7 separate regions of the Homo sapiens genome follow, and regions 2, 3, 4, 5, 6 and 7 are each linked to region 1. Evidence: promoter capture Hi-C in 16 types of primary human blood cells and fetal thymus (Javierre and others, 2016). All regions are on one chromosome and are shown on one strand. The core of a region is centred on a gene start or on the middle of the fragment in contact, and the rest is flanking DNA. Distances in the headings are between cores, read along the strand shown. Region 1 holds the start of ERI1 (exoribonuclease 1). Region 2 has its middle 68 kb from the start of MIR124-1HG. Region 3 has its middle 11 kb from the start of FAM85B. Region 4 overlaps TNKS (tankyrase). Region 5 has its middle 30 kb from the start of FAM85B. Region 6 overlaps TNKS (tankyrase). Region 7 has its middle 64 kb from the start of FAM85B.

Evidence for each region. Contacts are between HindIII fragments. The CHiCAGO score rates a contact against its expected background, and 5 or more counts as called.
Region 2: a fragment that was not itself captured here is called in contact with the fragment with the promoter of ERI1 in region 1 in 1 of 17 cell types (fetal thymus); the score reaches 5.4 in fetal thymus.
Region 3: a fragment that was not itself captured here is called in contact with the fragment with the promoter of ERI1 in region 1 in 4 of 17 cell types (non-activated CD4 T cells, naive B cells, total B cells and 1 more); the score reaches 6.4 in non-activated CD4 T cells.
Region 4: a contact is called between a fragment that was not itself captured here and the fragment with the promoter of ERI1 in region 1, in 2 of 17 cell types (naive B cells and total CD4 T cells). The highest score is 5.3, in naive B cells.
Region 5: a contact is called between a fragment that was not itself captured here and the fragment with the promoter of ERI1 in region 1, in 5 of 17 cell types (total B cells, M0 macrophages, naive CD8 T cells and 2 more). The highest score is 10.1, in total B cells.
Region 6: a fragment that was not itself captured here is called in contact with the fragment with the promoter of ERI1 in region 1 in 1 of 17 cell types (total CD4 T cells); the score reaches 5.2 in total CD4 T cells.
Region 7: a contact is called between a fragment that was not itself captured here and the fragment with the promoter of ERI1 in region 1, in 6 of 17 cell types (naive B cells, total CD4 T cells, total B cells and 3 more). The highest score is 6.8, in naive B cells.

What each region holds. Positions count from the first base shown.
Region 1 is chr8:9,001,626-9,004,168 of GRCh38, reverse strand. ERI1 (exoribonuclease 1) reads right to left here and starts at 1,272. Exons shown (of 7, transcript NM_153332.4): 1 at 998-1,272. The coding sequence starts at 1,105. It overlaps LOC105379227 (a long non-coding RNA gene), which reads left to right and starts at 1,427. Exons shown (of 3, transcript XR_002956680.2): 1 at 1,427-1,508. The HindIII fragment of the contact is 5,155 bases long and covers 308-2,543 here.
Region 2 is chr8:9,834,040-9,836,582 of GRCh38, reverse strand. No RefSeq gene overlaps it. Among named protein-coding and RNA genes, the nearest start is that of MIR124-1HG, 68 kb to the left of the region's middle. The HindIII fragment of the contact is 431 bases long and covers 1,065-1,495 here.
Region 3 is chr8:8,236,928-8,239,470 of GRCh38, reverse strand. It overlaps the pseudogene FAM86B3P and the pseudogene ALG1L13P. Among named protein-coding and RNA genes, the nearest start is that of FAM85B, 11 kb to the right of the region's middle. RefSeq lists enhancers at 965-1,294, 1,550-2,100, 2,101-2,543. The HindIII fragment of the contact is 2,166 bases long and covers 194-2,359 here.
Region 4 is chr8:9,770,331-9,772,873 of GRCh38, reverse strand. All of the region lies in intron 26 of TNKS (tankyrase), which reads right to left. Among named protein-coding and RNA genes, the nearest start is that of MIR597, 30 kb to the right of the region's middle. The HindIII fragment of the contact is 3,049 bases long and covers 1-2,543 here.
Region 5 is chr8:8,255,941-8,258,483 of GRCh38, reverse strand. No RefSeq gene overlaps it. Among named protein-coding and RNA genes, the nearest start is that of FAM85B, 30 kb to the right of the region's middle. The HindIII fragment of the contact is 4,421 bases long and covers 1-2,543 here.
Region 6 is chr8:9,743,738-9,746,280 of GRCh38, reverse strand. The region is part of intron 17 of TNKS (tankyrase); the gene reads right to left. Among named protein-coding and RNA genes, the nearest start is that of MIR597, 3.3 kb to the right of the region's middle. The HindIII fragment of the contact is 201 bases long and covers 1,177-1,377 here.
Region 7 is chr8:8,290,109-8,292,651 of GRCh38, reverse strand. No RefSeq gene overlaps it. Among named protein-coding and RNA genes, the nearest start is that of FAM85B, 64 kb to the right of the region's middle. The HindIII fragment of the contact is 1,342 bases long and covers 602-1,943 here.

The DNA of each region.
Region 1 (2,543 bases), core at 23-2,522:
ATCCAAAGGAAGTGCACACAGGGCAAAAGGAACATACAGAGATCCTTAACGAGACCTTCTTTCCAATGTCAAAGAACACAAGGCAGCGAGGGGCACTGGGAACAAAAGGGAAAAAACTGTGTGAGATGCAATTACCAAGGGAGGCAGGCACCCGACCCCGCAGAGCAGCAAATGGAAGTGACTCAGGAGGGGAATAAGCCAAATTCATGTTATTGAAAAGCTCATTCTAGCTGCCAGATGGAAACTGACTGTGGACGGAAGGAGCAAGAGTTAGGAGGCCTCTTGCAAATACGCACTTTATGAAGCTTTACGAAGTGTTCAACATGTTTATTATTAGGAAAAGATCAATTTTAGTATTCAATCACTTACAATCCGCAGCGCTAGTCAACAATTAACATTCGTTAAATAAGTTTTAAGACTGTTCTACAACTTTGCCACTGTAACTAAGTTCAACCGATGAGATGTCAAAATGATTCATTCAATCTTATACTATGGTTATATGAGACACCAGTTAATGAGCAAAAGCAGCTAAGACGAAGCTCCACTTAACAGGTACAGAGACAGGGATGCTGGTGAGTGCTTTTTAAATTTTTTCTTTTTTTAAAAACAGGCATGAAGTGACATACCTAGCGTATATGGTGAGATTTTAAAAACATAAAGCCTTGCAAACTACCCATAACGGCTACATGGAGTGACAACAGCAACCGTGAACACAGAATTAAGTTTAAAGCAAAACTCCCTCTTAGAACCTGTTAACCCACTGTAGACAGAACTGGTCTTGACGATTTCCTCCCTCCCAGAGAGTGATTCGGCCCTGAGGGGGCTCCAAGACACCCACCCGAGGATAAAGCCAGGGAGCTGGGCACCGAGGAAGAGGCTGGGGTCCAAGGGCGCACAGCTGCACCTTCTGCGGGACACCTGAGAAGAAAGGGGTGCCGAGGGCGCTTTGGGGACGGGGCAGCTGGCGCCAACAGCCAGGCGCGGGTCGACTCCTCACCTCGGGACTGGGACGCGGCGGCTCCTCCCCGCCCTCCGGCCGCGGCGACTCCAGCAGCGCGAGAGCCACGGCCTCGCCGGCAGGCTCTTTACTCTGTGGATCCTCCATGCCGGCTGTCACGCCAGAGGAGAGTTGCTGGAGCCGGACACTTGCTAACTCTCACTCTGCAGAGCCCGAAAGCCTCGCCTTTCTCCGTTGAAAAATTACCGGGCTCGCGTTCCCGCGGCGGCGGCCACACAAACTCCAGCGGCCACCTCCCACTTCCGGGAGCGTGTGGCGTCCACACGCCGGGCAGGCGCAGTGAGCCGGCGTGCGCGGAACGCCAGCGCCGCAGTCCACAGGGGGAGGGAGGACGAACAAGAGGGAGGCGCGCCGGTGAGAAGACGGGGCGTGGCCGGCCGTAGGCGGAGCTAGCGCGGGTTGAAGTTGCGCAAGGATCTAGTCCAGTCACTGGAGGGTAGCACCGGCACGTGTGTTCCCGTCAGTGTTTCCTGAGAAGGAAAAAAGTAGGGTGAGTGGGAAGATATCATAGAGAAAGATGTTTTCGACCATAAAAAATAATAAAACAATTCACATTTTCCATAAGGAGTTTCCTAAAACTTCCACTCTGGGCAAGAAAAGAAAATGGGTCGGGACTTAGTGTCCCACTATAAACAATTAGAAAACGGAACAAAATATAGGAGACACCTATTCAGACATTGGACAACGGACAGCTGTGGACTGTTTTACCTGAGAGAAAAGAAATAAAAGGAGCCGTATATCATCCTGCCCTTTTGCCCAGAGGCGATTTCCAGTCTGTGGTGCGATGAAAGGAAATCATATGGAAACCTAGGATCTCCTGGGTTGAAAAGACAGAGATTGGAGTTGACGAAATTGGGGTAGGCCAAGTCGGTTGGAATTTGTAGGGCAGAATTCTGGAGAGGAGGGAATTACATGGAAAAAGAGCTTCAGAAATCTGCTTAGGAGTACCTTGAATCTTTAACTGAATAAAAAACGTGAAACTCCACAAGGCCAGGAAAGAACAATTACTGGGGAGCAGTACACCAAACAATGGTGAGAGGTCACACAGAACTGGGAATCATTTGAGCTCCCAGCAACCAGAGTGAAGAGATTATTGAATACCATGGAACACGCAATAGAAACCTCAGATGTGAAACTGCCATTGCAAAATTATCATTGAGACAGTGAAAGAGATCAGACCTAACCAACTCCATCTTGCTTTTAACCTCCAGGCTATCCTTATTCATTCCTAGGCGTAGGCCAAACTAACACTGGGAGGAACTTAGTGTATAGCTTATAGTTTAAAACAAAGGTGATAGCCCTTTCTCAAAATAAACCCTCTTCTTGAGACTAGACTGCTTTTGTAGGACTAGTAAATTAGCCGAAAGATTAGAAATTATGATTTAGGACTCATGCAGCTGAAGGCTACAAGATTCTAACCCTCTCCAAATTGCTCCTGGGGATAATATCACTATTGTAAAATCTAAGATCAGTGCTTGAGATATTTTGCAGGCCCTGCACTTGATGGATCAGCTGGCACCTCCCA
Region 2 (2,543 bases), core at 31-2,530, 830 kb before region 1:
CATGTATTTTAATTTTATTTTAAACCTCGCAAGGTATTATTATTGTTTTATCTAACCAATGTTAATATAGATTTTATCTAGATATTTACCACTTTTTTTTTTTAAGATGGAGTTTTGCTCTTGTCACCCAGGCTGGAGTGCAGCGGTGCAATCTCGGCTTACTGCAACATTTGTCTCCTGGGCTCAAGCAATTCTCCTGCCTGAGCCTCCCGAGTAGCTGTGATTACAGGTGCCCACCACCACATGCAGCTAATTTTTGTATTTTTAGTAGAGATGAGGTTTCATCACGTTGGCCAGGCTGGTCTCGAACTCCTGACCTCAGGTGATCCACCTACAACTGTCTCCCAAAGTGCTGGGATTACAGGCTTGAGCCACCATGCCCAGCCAATGTTTACCACTTTTTGTTCTATATTCATTTCTTCCATTTAGTATCATATGATTTCTGTTTGAAATATATCCTTTAGAATTTGCCTCATTGAGAATTTGATAATGAAAAACCCTTCATTTTGTCTGTATGAAAAATATGTCTATTTCAAAATCATTCCTGAAATAGCTCTTTCTGGTATATAAAGTAGTAGTTATTTTCTTTTAATGCATTGACAATGCCATTCCATTGTCTTTGGTTTCCCATTGTTGCCATTGAGAAGTCAGCAGTTGGTCTCACTGCTGCTCCTTTGAAGATGTCTTTTTCCTCTGGTTGTTTTGTTTTGTTGTTTTGTTTTTGACACAGGGTCTCGCTCTGTCACCGAGGCCAGAGTGCAGTGGTACAATCACAGCTCACTGTAGCCTCAAACTCCTGGACCCAACAATCCTCCCACCTCAGCCTCCCAAGTAGCTAGGGCTGCAGGTGTGCACCATGATGCCCAGCTAATTATTATCCTTTTTTTTTTTTTTCAGAGATGGAGTATCAGTACGTTGCCCAGGCTCCTCTGAAACTCCTGGCGTCAGGCAATCCTCTTGCCTCAGCTTCTCAAAGTGCTGGGATTACAAACATGAGCCACCATGCCCAGCCTTTTCTGGGCATGGTTGTTTCTAAGATCTCCATTGTTTTGATCTTTTAAGCTTTACTGTAATCTCAGTGTAAATTTTTTTGTATTGAACCAGTTTGCGATTCACAGCAAATCTGTGGTTTGCTCTCTCAGCACTTCTAAAAAATTATTCACCTTTCTCTGTTCATACGTTGCTGCTGCCCCATTCCCCCCTACTTATAGAACATCAATAAAATATATGTTAGACTTTTTCTCTCTGCCTATTAATCATTTTTCTATGTATTTGATCTTTTGTTTCTCTGCGCTACTTTCTGGAAAATTTTTTGTGCCTATTTTCAAGGTGATTAATTATCTCCTCAGCTATGTCTAACATGATTGTGAACCAATCTGGTGAACTTTTAATTTCAGGATTGTGTGTTCTATTTCTAGAAGCTATATTTGTTTTTTCTATTATATTTGCTTTTTGTTGTTGTTTACTTCTATTTCCCCGTAGATGCATCCAAGCTTATGTTTTGTTCATTTAAATATAGTAAGAATGACAGTTGTTTAATTGTGTTCAACTGTTTCAATTCTTATTGGAATTTTAATATTCCAATGACATCTTTGTGGACTTTGTTCTGTTGTTTTTCTGGTTCTTAGTTATGTTTTGTTCTCCTTTTGCATTTATTATTTTTGTGTACTGCTATTATACTAACAATAATTATTGTCAGGCATGATACTTACACCTGTAATCCCAGCACTTTGGGAGGCTGAAGTGGGTGAATCACTTGTGCTCAGGAGTTCAAGACCAGCCTGACCAACATGGTGAAACTCCATCTCTACTAAAAATACAAAAAATTAGCCAAGCATGGTAGCAGGCCCCTGTAATCCCAGCTACTTGGGAGGATGAGGCAGGAGAATCACTTGAACCCAGGAGACAAATGTTGCAGTGAGCCGAGATTGTGCCACTGCACTCCAGCCTGGGAAACAAAGTGAGACTCTATCTCAAAAAAAAAAATTATTTATAGGAAGCACTTAGACATTGGGTGAAGCTTCTTTTCCCCAGAGAGGATTTGCACATGCTCCTGCCTGCAGTAGAAGCACTACCCATCTAGGAACTGCTTGAGGTTTCCTGAACAAACCAGATATGAAAACCTGAGGGCTAGTTCACCCTTATGCTGAAGATACAGGCCTTTGGATTTCTGATAATATTCATCATTCAAACTATGCTTTCTTGGGAGCTTCTTTTCTTAAAGTACCATAAATCATACAATATTCCACGTGGAAAAATTCATGACTTTAACAAAGGATAAGACAATGATGTCTGGGTTCTTTCTTTTCAATAATATTCCCTATGAGATTAAGAAGATTGCAGCCTCTTTAAGCCAAAACAATATGCTATTTCAGTTTCCTTGAGAAATAGTTTATAAAACAAAAACAGTGTACAATTCAGGAGATATTTATTAAGTGTCTGCCACAGACCAGGTGCTATGGTGCTAGGAATACCATGGTGAGAATTACAGAAACCAGCCTTCCAATGACTACTGAACTTCTTTCCTGCATATAATTGGTGGC
Region 3 (2,543 bases), core at 27-2,526, 760 kb after region 1:
TGTTTGGCTGGGGGATGGCAGAGGGGGAGGGGCACGCAGCCTTCACCCTGTGCTTCCCACGATCTTGTCTCCTTAATCCTCACTGCAGCTCTCTGCCATAGGGTCTTATACTGCTTGACACGTGGGAAACTGAGGCTCAGAGGGTTTCACAGCAGGGCAGGGAGCCCAGATGTGAATCTGTAGATACCAAGCTTTCTACTTTTTCAGTAGTTTCCAAGCATCTTTTCTGTTGTTGTTATGTCATTGGTGTCTTTTTTTTTTTTGAGACAAAGTCTCTGTCTCCCAGGCTGGGGTGCAGTGGTGCGATCTCAGCTCACTGCAACCTCTGCCTCTCACATTCAAGCAATTCTCATGCCTCAGCTTCCCGAGTAGCTGGGACTACAGGTGCCCACCACACCCAGCTTATTTTTGTATTTTTAGTAGAAACAGGGTTTCACCATGTTGGCCAGGCTGGTCTTGAACTCCTGACCTCAAGTGATCCACCCGCCTTGGCCTCCCAATATGCTGACATTATAAATATGAACCACTGTGCCCGGCCATGTCATTGGTGCCTTAACCAAGCCTCTTTTAATTTTTCAAATGGAAGAGCCCCTGTCCCACAGTTACTGCTGCTGAGCCCTTTCAAGATGACTCAGTGAGGAGGGAGAAAAGCGGAAGTGGTGTAGGAAGAGGCGGGGTCTGGGCCAGCTGCTGGTCCTGCTCTCCTCCCTCCTCTGGCCTCTAGGCTCCCAGGAGTGGTTTGGAAAGCGCGCCATGTGCTCTGGAGGCTGTGGCAGGGCAGGCGCGGATTGGAACCCGCACCATGTGCTCTGGGGGCTGCGGCAGGGCAGGGGGAGTCCTCGTGTCCCCTGTGCACAACACAGACAGAAGGCTGGGTCCACCCAGTGGGTGGTCAGGTGCCAGGCCAGTGCTTACCCCACCATGTTTGCAGCCCGAGGCCAGCTGGCTGCAGGTGCAGGGCTATGCATCAGGGGTCAGGGTGCACACACCCCTGCAGGTCTCGGGGCTCCTGGGTTGCTTCTGGAAGGGCCCAGATGGGGCCTGACTGGAGCTGCCGAGGGGTGGAGCTTCTGGGAAAAGGATCCCTCCTAGGGGGAGTGTCTTGGGCCTGGGGCCATGTGGCAGGGACAGAGACGGGTCCATGGCAGTGTCTGCTCTTCTCTGTGAAGGCAAAGGGCCTCTGAGGGAGTATTACAGCCGCCTCATCCACCAGAAGCATTTCCAGCACATCCAGGTCTGCACCCACTGGCTGGAGGGCCGAGGACTACCCCCGCTTCTAGGTGAGAGGCCAGCAGGAGGCTCAGGGAGGAGGCGGGGACTTAAGCAGGGGTAACAGGCATGGGCATGATGTACTTTTTCTGAAAAGGTGGCTCTGGAGGCCACTTGGGGACAGGACTTGGGCTCTGGCTTAACTCCCAGGAGGAGGCTACTTCCTGGTGTGCCAGCCCCTCCCTGCCAGGTGGCCCCAGAGGCCCTTTACCAAGGGGTTTGAGGAGGCCACGTCCTTTCAGCCTGCCATGCCCTCCATTCAGTCCTCTTCCTTCCTGCAGGAGGCCTGGGCCTGGGGTTGGGGCCACTGTTGCCCAGGTGTGGGAGGGCAGTGGCTTTGGGAGGGGGTCGGGGGTCGCTTGGCCTCTGTGTGTCCTACTGTCTTTGTCGGTGAGATGGGACAATGACAGCACACCCTCACAGGTGCTGGGGGCTGACAAATGTCAGGTCTGAGGACAGTGGGTGGCCCACTACGGGGCCAGTTCCCCTTCTCTATAGTCACCCTGCTCGTCTTCCATCAACTGGGTGCTCAAGACAGTGGAGTGGAGGATCCGCCTGTACAGCCTGTGCTCCAGCGTCATGCAGGCCACAGCTCTGTCCAGCCCTGACCCCGACTGCCCCTCCTGCCACCTCCATTTTATAGATGAGGAAACCGAGGCCCAAGGGCTTAGGGAACCCTGCTCTGAAGCACACAGTAGGGCTGCTGGGCTCAGACCCTCCCTCCCTGTGCTGAGCTACCCTCCTCCTGCTGCAAGCCCCCAATGCCCCGAGCCCACCCTGCTCACCGGCCTCTGCCCGAGTTCCCCTCATGGTGTCGGAGTGTGGGGCATCCTAGCTCTTCCCTGGTGCCCAGCTCTTTCACTTCCACTGGAGTCCTGCAGTGACAGCTCAGGGACATACAGGCCCAGGCTGGGGTGGGGGCTCACCTAGCTCGGTGGTGAACAGCTGGCACGTCTCTCAATTGCGGACAGCGAAGGCCACGTAGACCTCAGAAGCCCGCTGGTGCTCCCGGCAGGCAGCCAGCCTCCGCAGGACCCTGACCAGTGACACAATGGCTTCTGGGCAATACAGCACATCTACGGTGAAAGCTTCAGGTTACTGAAAGGGACCAGCGGACAGTTCCAGGTCACGCTGACCTCAGCAGCAGGGCGAGGCCAGAGAGGCAGCGATCATATGAGACTATTAGATGCCTTTTGACCATTTGAGCCATTAGATGGAAAGGCAATTACTTGGGTGAAAAAGGAGAACCCTTAGTAGAGAAAGCTGCAAAAGAC
Region 4 (2,543 bases), core at 33-2,532, 770 kb before region 1:
ACACATACGCACTACACACACACACACACACACACACACACAGACACACACACACACACACACAAACACACACACACACATTCTCCCCAAAACGTTTACAAGTTATATACATCATCATGGTCCTTTATCCCTAAATATGCCAGTATATATTTTCTAAGCATAGACATATTGCCTTACGTAAGTACAGAATCAACCTTATAATTTTACATTGATACAATCCTTTTATTTAATGTCCATATTCCAATTCTGTCAGTTGATCTAATAATGTACTTTCTCTTCCAATACTGGATGCAGTTGGGGGCAGAAGGTTAACTTCGTTTTCATGTCTCTTGGGCCTCATGTAATCTGGAAAGTTAGCACAGCCTTTCTTTTATAATATTAACATTTTTGAAGAATACAATCTTTCAACATTAAAAAAAGTAAAACATTCCTCATTTTGATTAGACTTACATCATGTATTTTTGGCTGGAATGCTGCAGAGATGTCGTGCCTTTAGAGTATCCACCTAGAGAGATAATATAAGCCTATCTGTCCCTCATTGGTGATGTTGATTTTGATTATCTGGTCAAGGCATTGTCCCCTTTCTCCAATATATAATTACTCCTCCCCCCAGCCCCCTTTGAAAGTAAGTCTGTAATAAGAAAACCACGCAAATATTCTTCTCCTTAGTGAAACAATCCCCATATTTAGCATCCATTAATAATTCTTGCCTGGTCTAATAATGGGTACATGATGAGTCCCATGTCATCCCTCCCTCCACCCGTCCTTCCCTGTTTCTCCCTCCCTCCTTCTCTCTCCCTCTCTCCCCCTCCATCCCTCCCTACCTCTGTCTCCTCTCACTCCCTCCCTTTCTCCCTCCCCCATCCCTCTGCCTATCCCTTCTTCCCTCCCACCTCTTTCTCCCTCTCACTCCCTCCCACTCCCTCCCTCTCCCCCTCCCTCCCTCTTCCTCCCTCTCTCCCCATCCCTTCCTTCTGCTCTCCCTCACTTTCTCCCTCCGTTCCGCTCTCTAGCTCTCTCTCCCTCCCTCCCCTCTCTCCCCGCTTCATTCCCCCTTCTCCCTTCCTCCCCCACTTCCCTTCTCCTCTCTCTCCTGCCTTCCTTTTTTTCTCTCTCCTTCCTCCAATCCTTCCTTTCTCACTCCCTGTTCCTTCCTCTCTCGCTTTCTCCCTTCCTCTCTCTCTCTCTCTCTCTCCCTCCCTTCCTGCCTCTCCCCTCCATTCATCCCTCTCTCTCTTTCCCTCCCTCTTTCCTTCCTCTCTTCCTCCCTTCTTTCTTTCCTCTCCCTTTCTCTCTTCCTTCCTCTCTCGCTTTCTCCCTTGCTTCCTCTCTCAGTCTTTCTCCCTCCCTTCCTCTCTCTCCCGTTCTTTCCTTCCCTTTATCTCTTTCCCCCTTCCTTCTTCTCTCCCTCCCTTCTTCTCTCTCTTTTCCTTTCCTCTGTCCCTCCCTTCCTTAGTATCTGTCTCCCTTTCTTTCCCTCCCTTTCTCTCTTTCCCTCCCTCCCTTCCTCTCTCTCTCCCTCCCTGCTTCCCTTCCTCTCTCTCCCTCCTTTCTTCTCTCTTCCTTCCTTCCTCTCTCCTCCCTCCCTTCCTCGCTCTCTCTTCCTCCCTCACTTCCTTCCTCCCTCCCTCCTTTCCTCGCTCTCTCCCTCCCTTCCTCTCTCTCTTCCTCCCTCACTTCCTTCCTTCCTCTCTTCTCTCCCTCCTTTCCTTCCTGTCTGTCTCTCTCTCTCTCCTTCCCTCCCTTCCTTGGTTTCTCTTTCTCTCATATACACACACATGCTTATATTACTACTTACCCATAAATTTACATGGGTGTACACACACGTTAGAAACCATGAGATCATAGTAATACTTCCAATTTCAGTCCACCCTTAGAGTCTTTCTTACCTTCTCCATTCCATATTTGTATGTCCCTTCTTCTACCATGAGAATTTTGGCTCCTCAAATCAATACATCAACACATCCGCTCATGTGCTCAATCCTATAATATGCTTAAGAGTTTCACTGTTTTGCCCACGGTATCTCCATCAACACATTTACTAAAAGGAGTTCAGGATTCCTTTGTCAGTCTTCCCCCAACAGCATTCCCTACCCTGCCCATGACTGAAGGCACAGTATAAAATACTGTTTTCATAGGTTATATATATTTAGTTATTTCCTTCTTTATTTTTCTCTTTTATTGTAGTTATGGTATTCATTTGAAGTTCACTTACATTCAGACAAATTGTTTTTGTTTTTGGACAAATCCTGTGGCATGTACATCCATGAAGACCCACTAACAGCAGCTGCCCTGGCATGCTGCCCACGAAGTGGCACAAGGCATTAGTTCAGAGCTGCAGGCCTCAAAACGGCATGAGGGCCCAAGCCTTTGTTTCTCAGCTGCCCTCTTGTTCACACTGTGTTATGTGGCTGACAGCTACTAATGGGTTTTAGGTAAAAAGTTGATGTCAAAGAATTATTTTGATACCTTTATTTTGTATCTGAAGTAATTAATACTAGCACACTGTGTGGTGGATATTTCACTGAAAAGTGTCTCAAGTC
Region 5 (2,543 bases), core at 24-2,523, 750 kb after region 1:
CTAAAAACTTCATGCTTTCATGCTAATAAACATTCAACAACTTAAATGTACACATTTCTTGAAAGACACAAATGAGCAAAGTCCACTCACAAAATAAATAATATGAATAGCTCTCTATTAAAGACATTGAAGTTGCCATTAAAAACCTTCCTCAAAAAACAAAAAACAAAAAACTTCAGGCCTACATGGCTTCACTGGTGAATTTTACCAAATGTTTAAGAAGCAATGACACCAGTTGTACACAAACTCTCCCAGAAAAGGAAAGAGATAGAACTCCTTCTTAACTCATCCTATGAGGCCAGCATTACCTGCTACCAGACAACAACATGACTAGAAAAGGAAACTACTAACCAATGTCCCTCATAAACATAGATGCAAAAATTCTTATCAAAACTTTATTAAACTGAATCCAATTATATACAAAAAGCATAGTAGATCATGACTAAGTGAGTTTCCTCTCCCATGAATGGAAAGTTAGTTTAACATTTTAAAACTGATCAATGTAAGTAAATATATCAACAATTTAAAAAGTAAGAATCATACTATCATCTCAATTGATGCAATAAAAGCATTTGACAAATCCAGCATCTATTCCTGATAAAAACTCTCAACAAACTTGGAATAGAAGGGCACTTCATCCACCAGATAAAGGATTTACCTTTATCAGATAAGAAAAACATAGACTCACCCCTACTTAATGGTGAAAGACTGAATGCTTTGTCCCTGAGAATAGGAACAAGACAAAGATTTATGTTATCAATTCTCTTCATCATTGTCCTGAAGGTACTAATCAGTGTGATAAGGAAAAATAAATAAATACAATAAAAGACATTTAGATTTGAAAGAAAAAAATAAACTCTCAATTCACTAATGACATCTTGTTAAAAATGCGAAAAAAATCTACCAAAAAACTATTAGAACTACTATGTGCATTTAGCAAGGTTGCAAGATATAAGGTCACTATACAAAAATCAGTTACAATTTTATGTACTAACAACAATTGGAGATTGAAATAAAAAAAGGTCACTTGACATTTGACAAAAATGTCAAATACTTTGGGATTCATCTGTCAGAAGATGTACAGGACCAGTAAACTGAAAATATCAAAATATTCCTAAGAGAAATTAAAGATCTAAATAAATGGAGATATATACATTGTTGGTAGATCAGAAGACTCAATAATATTATAATGTCAATTCTCTCAAAAAAAATTTTTTTTTGAGACAGAGTCTCTCTCTGTCGCTCCAGGCTGGAGTGCAGTGGAGCAATCTCGGCTCACTGCAACATCCACCTCCCAGGTTCAAGCAATTCTCCTGCCTCAGCCTCCTGAGTAGCTGAGATTACAGGTGCACACCCCCATGCCCAGCTAATTTTTGTATTTTTAGTAGAGACGGAGTTGCACCATGTTGGCCAGGCTGGTCTCGAACTCCTGACTTCAAGTGATCTGCCCATCTTGGCCTCCTGAAGTGCTGGGATTACAGGCCTGAGCCACCGCGCCTGGCCAATTCTCTCAAAACTGATCTAAAGAGTCAATGCAGTCTGTAGAAATTTTTGTTAAAATGTACTAGATTATTACATACTTTATAAGGAAATATAAGTTATCTTAAATAGCCAACACCTTTGAAAAATAACATAGTTGGAAGACTTACATTACCTGACTTCAAGGTAAATGTTAAAGCTAGAGTTGTCAAAACAGTGCCGTATTGGCATAAAAATAGACAGATCAATGGAAGAGAACAGAGTCCAGAAATAGGCCCACGCACATACAGTCATTTGTTTTTTAACAAAGGTGCAAAGGCTATTTAGTGGAGAAAGGATAGTCTTTTTAATAAATGGTGTTGGAAAAATTATATATTTTTATTTTTAAAAAAATCTTGTTTCATACATCACAATATATACAAATATTAACTCAAAATGAATGAGGCCTACTTGGAATGACAAGTAAACGTAAAACAAAAACTGTAAAATTCCTAGAAGAAAACATGCAAGAAAATTTTTGTGAGCTTGAGTTAGGCAAAGATTTCTTAGATATACAACCCACAAGTGAAAAGCTGATAAATTGTGCATCATCAGAAATACCTTCTGGTCTTTGAAGAATGGTGTTAAGATAATGAAAATTATATACAGTAGCTGAAAAACATAGCATTTAGATTATATAAAGAACCTCTAGAAGACATTATTAGAAAACAAATAATGCACTTTAAAAATGGGCCCAGATTTGAATGGACACTTTACCAAAGAAGCTATATGAATGGCAGATGAGCAAGTGAGCTGATTCTCAGCATAATTAGTCATTTGGGAAATGAAAATTAAGGTGATTTCGGACCACATAGTTATTAGAATGTTTAAAATTTAAAAGTCTGAACATACCAAGGACAGGATATATCCATAAGGTAAGGATAGGGAGGAAGTGGGACTCTCATCCACTGCCAGTGAGAAGGTAAAATGGTACAACCAATTTAGAAAACAGTTTAACAAGTTCTTTAAAAATTGAATATCCTTCTCTCATATGACCCGATCACTCAATTTCTTGTTATTTAGCG
Region 6 (2,543 bases), core at 28-2,527, 740 kb before region 1:
TTGTATATTTTTATAAATACATTTAGGATGTTAGGCTGGTTAGCACTTAAGTATTTCTGAGATCCATTTCAACTCCAGTATGCTATAATTTGGTGCAACTGGCACATTTGTGTCCCTTACAGACACATTTCTGGGCATAACTTGGTCAGTTTGGATAATTAACTCAAAAGCACATCATCTATTGAAAATAAATTTCTAACTCATGCTGCTGCTCGACTACCACACATTGAGGCTTTTAAGGAAGACATTTATGAGAATGGGAAAAGACAGGGAAGGCCAAGAAAGATCCCAAGATGCAACTTAATGCATGTCACTTTCTATCTTCCTTAAGATATCGTCTTCCCTGCACTCTTGAAGACACTCACTTCAAAAAGAACAGGCACTTTTTCTGAGGTAGTATTTAACTTTATGTAATATAAATATCTGTATTTCCTAATTTTAGAAATAGTAGTTTCTGAAAACAAAGTGAAGAACATTTATCTAAAAACAAAAGTACAGATCAGCCAACTACTAAGGAAAGCTTCCACATTTGCTCTAATAATACAAAGCAAAAAACGCCCCCAAAAACAAAAAATAGGCCAGGTGTGGTGGTTCAGGCCTGTAATCCCACCACTTTGGGAGGCCGAGGCCAGCAGATCATTTGAGGTCAGGAGTTTGAGACCATCCTGGCCAACATGGCGAAACCCCATCTCTGCTAAATACACAAAAATTAGCTGGGTGTGGCGCCACACACCTGTAATCCCAGCTACTTGGGAGGCTGAGGCAGGAGAATCGCTTGAATCTGGGAGACGGAGATTGCAGTGAGTCAAGATTGCACCACTGCTTTCCAGCCTGGGTGAAGAGTGAGATTCCATCTCAAAACAAAACAAAACAAAAAACCCCATAAACAAAAAATAAAATAAATAAGCAGCATAATCAGACTAAGTCTTCTCAGAACAGGATGTTTTGTGATTCTTCTGGGATTATAATATCACTATAAAATTAATTCTATAGCTTAATTATTTTTAAATTTTCTAACACAAAAGATGAAAACAGAGGTACCACTCGTGGTATTATCAAAATCACCTAAAACAAAACCAAACCTAGTAATTTATCTCCCTTATTCAAAGGCTATATGTTGAAAAAAGGCAGCAATTTTTGTTAAGTTAACCCAAAAGCACGGAATAATTTCAAGCTTCTCCCCAGTGAGGTTACAAGCTACTTAAACTGTGTTTCTGATGATTAATTTTATTGAACTCCCATGTTTACAGGCCGAATAATATAATCTGGTAGACTAATTTACACAGGCTTCCAAAATTACAAAAAGTCCAAGGAAAATTACCTGTTTCTGTATGTGTGTATAAAATGAATTGTATATCTGGTATGTATTATTAAGCTTTCTTTATATTGAAGTTATAGTTTATGCTTGGACAAACCAACTACATGCTTGTGAAATTTTCTGACAAATGTCTGAAAGAACAATGAACAGGAAGGAGTATATTACTACCCAAATAGACTAAAAATACAGTTCTTAAGCTGTTTAATTCTTTTAAATAGCTACACCATTGAGGCAAAAATAGTAACTGGAATTTAAGGCTGACAAATCCAATAAATAGCAGTTCAGTTCTATTCAACACAGTATATAAGAGCAAAGTATTGAACTAGAAGGTCCAGAAAAGAAACTGATCTCTGTTGGAATGTTTCCAGGAGAAACAGACAATTTAACCTAGTTTCAGAATCCAGCTGCAATACAAAATGCTTTAAATGACAAATACAACCTAAAAAGACTGGGAAGCTTTTAATTTTAAAAAGGTGGGAAGTAGGGGAAAGAGAAACATGCTTGGCTTCAGTTAAAGCCATTTAATTGTACAGAGGCTTTATTACAATTATGTCATGAAATTCCCCAAATGTTATCCATTTTAGAGAAAGCACTGGAAAATAAAAACAGTTGAGAGAAAATGAATCAGTCAATTGATTTACTCTTATAAGATATAAATTTACATGCTTTGTGGTAATAAGTATCAATGCCATTTACTGACTTAGCAGAAAAGTTAACTGTCTTGTATAAACATGTATTCAAATATAACACAAGGCATTATTATATAAAGAACACCGACACAGTAAGGCACACTACCACTAATATCAACTCTCATGCAACTTGTAATTTTTATTGATGCTTCTTAAATAAATATGTATTTTTTTCTCCATTTGGAAAAACTGAGGTTCTTTTTATACAAAAAAGGCTCAAAGACACACACAGAGCAGATTGAGCTCTCTAGGGGAAAAAAGTAAATAAGTATGAAGGAATAATGATCAATAAATAACTACATAAGTAAATAACTATGTAATTTCACAGCTACCTCAGATTATTATTTCATCCTCAGCCTAGTCAATTAATCTGTGTTTATTTAACACAGCACTGAGCCAGTCAAATATATAGATTATTCCTAAGGCTGTGAAATGTAGGAGTGACATGCAGCCCTTATTCTGACTGGCTTAGTACAGGAACTGTGGGAAGCAAGGAATTTACTAATTTTTAATATCTATACATCTATAGATATGGA
Region 7 (2,543 bases), core at 23-2,522, 710 kb after region 1:
CAAACAGCAGTCTATTTCCACGAAAACCCAAGTGACTCCCGGGGAAGAAAAATACACACATAAGTAAAACTTGTCCCAAGGGGAAAGAGGAGCAGGCCGGCCCATGTCTTCCAAGACTGAAGAGTCAGTTATCCGGGAGAAGAATGGCTGTGTTTGTCTTTCAGATCTTTCCCTGGTCCAGCCTAGTGGACTCATGCCTGAATCTTATTTTAAATAGAGTAGGGGCTGGGTGCGGTGGTTCACACCTGTAATCCCAGCACTTTGGGAGGCTGAGGCAGGTGGATCACTTAACGTGAGGAGTTCGAGACCAGCCTGGGGAACATGGTGAAACCCCATCTCTACTAAAAATACAAAAATTAGCCAGGTGTGGTGGTGGGAGCCTATAATCCCAGCTACTCAGGAGGCTGAGGTGGCAGAATGAATCGCTTGAACCTGGGAGGTGGAAGTTGCAGTGAGCCGAGATCGTACCACCATACTCCAGCCTGGGCGATAGAGGGAGACTCTGTCTCAAAAAAAAAAAAAAAAAAAAAAAAAAAGAGTAGAGGTAATCATATAATTAAAAGTGAAAATGCCTGTTTCTCAAAACCTTTGGGTATAAGCTTTATACCCAAACTTCTGGACCAGTTTAATGGAGTACAGCCCTCAAAGGGAGGCAAGAATTCTCTCCCACTTTTCCAAGGAATATTATGCAGTTCAGCATCTCCTCCCCAACCCTGAGGTTCCAGTACCTCAGCATCTGCTGTATGGGCTCTAGGGTGTCTGCAGTGAAAGCAGCTAATTGGAGGCAGTGATGTCAAGCAGGGCCAGAGAGGGTGGCAGGGGCTGCAGCACCAGCAGCCAGGCGATGCTCAGCCTGAGCATGGCCAATGCACCCTGTGTAGCATCCAGGAGAGGCAGCACATCCCTACCAGAGCCATGGTACAAAATACAAGCCACCTGGGTATCTGGAAGCGAGGGTGGGGCTTGGTAATAATTACTAAAGCATGCAGCACAGCAACAGCCAAAGAGAAGAAAGGGAAAAAAGTGAAATATGTAATCTTATTCACAAATAAATATAAGAACAAATTCCACTGAATCCCTGAAAACAAAATGTGGGGCGAGGGCAGTAAACGCAACTGACTACTGTAAATGCAACCTCACCTTAAAAGATTACCAACTAGCTAAGCATGGTGGCCCACGCCTGTAATTCAAGCACTTGGAGGCTGAGGTGGGTGGATCATTTGAGGTCAGGAGTACGAGACCAGCCTGGTCAACATGGTGAAACCCCTGTCTCTACTAAAAATACAAAAGTTAGCCAGGTGTGCTGGTGTACATCTGTAATCCCAGCTACTCAGGAGGCTGAGACAGATGAATCGCCGGAATCCGGGAGGCAGAGTTTGCAGTGAGCTGAGATTTGACTATTGCACTCCAGTCTGGGTGACAGAGTGAGATCCCATTTCAAAAAAAAAAAAACAAAAATTACCAACTACTAGCCTTATGGAGCAATATTTAAGTTGTTTTTATTTTGACTTAGACTTTAGGGCTAAATCTATGTTTTAATGAAGAAAAAATGTGTTCATAAATAATTATTTTCCTCAGAAGAAAAACATATTTTCTTTTATCACGTTGCCAGCCCAAAGGAGAGCTCATGTTTAAAAAATCACAGTGTTAGTTTATGACCAGCCTGGGCAACACAGCAAGATCCTGGCTCTACCAGAAAAAAAATTTTTTTTTAATTAGCCAAATGCAGTGGCACATGCCTGTAGCCCCCACTACTCCTCAGGAAGCTGAGGTGGAAGGATCACTTGAACCCAGGAGTCCAAGGCTGCAGTGAGCTATGATCATGCTACTGCACTCCAGCCTGGAAGACAAAGCGAAAACAACAATAACAACGACAACAGCAACAAAAAGCAAAAATCACAGCGTGTCTTAGGACTCATGTTCACTTTCATTTTTTTAAAGCTTTGCTAATTACTGATTAATCTTTTCTATTCCCTGTTGCTTAAACAATATTAGAATGTTTCTGTGCACAAAATCCAAGACTCAAAAACACAAAATAAAATTTGATGGCTTTTAAGTAAAAATTTGTTACTCAACTTATTTTTACCGCGATTTAGATTCATTGTGATGTTGGAGGTATGACCTTATCTATTCATCTGAATGACATTTTGTTTCAACAAAAGGGCAGTGCTCTCAATGTCAAATAATAAGATAGAAATCTTTAATCCCTTTAGTCCTTCTGTATACCTAGGTCATTTTATTTTAGAGTGTATGTGTACAGAGAGTATACTCAACTAACCCTCATAGTGATTACACTGGTTGTACCTAATGCAACAAATACTATTCAACTTTAACAAAATAAGAATTTTATACTGTCTGGCTTATTCTTAATTCTTCCCTAAGGGCCTATTTGGTTTAGCATCAAATACAAGATTAAGAGACTCTAAACGTTAGCTGAACAGCCACTCAAGGGATTTAGACATGATCTCTTTACACAAAAGAGTTAGCATACATCTGATATCCCCTGCACAGAGAACACATGTTTATACATATAATAAATCTCC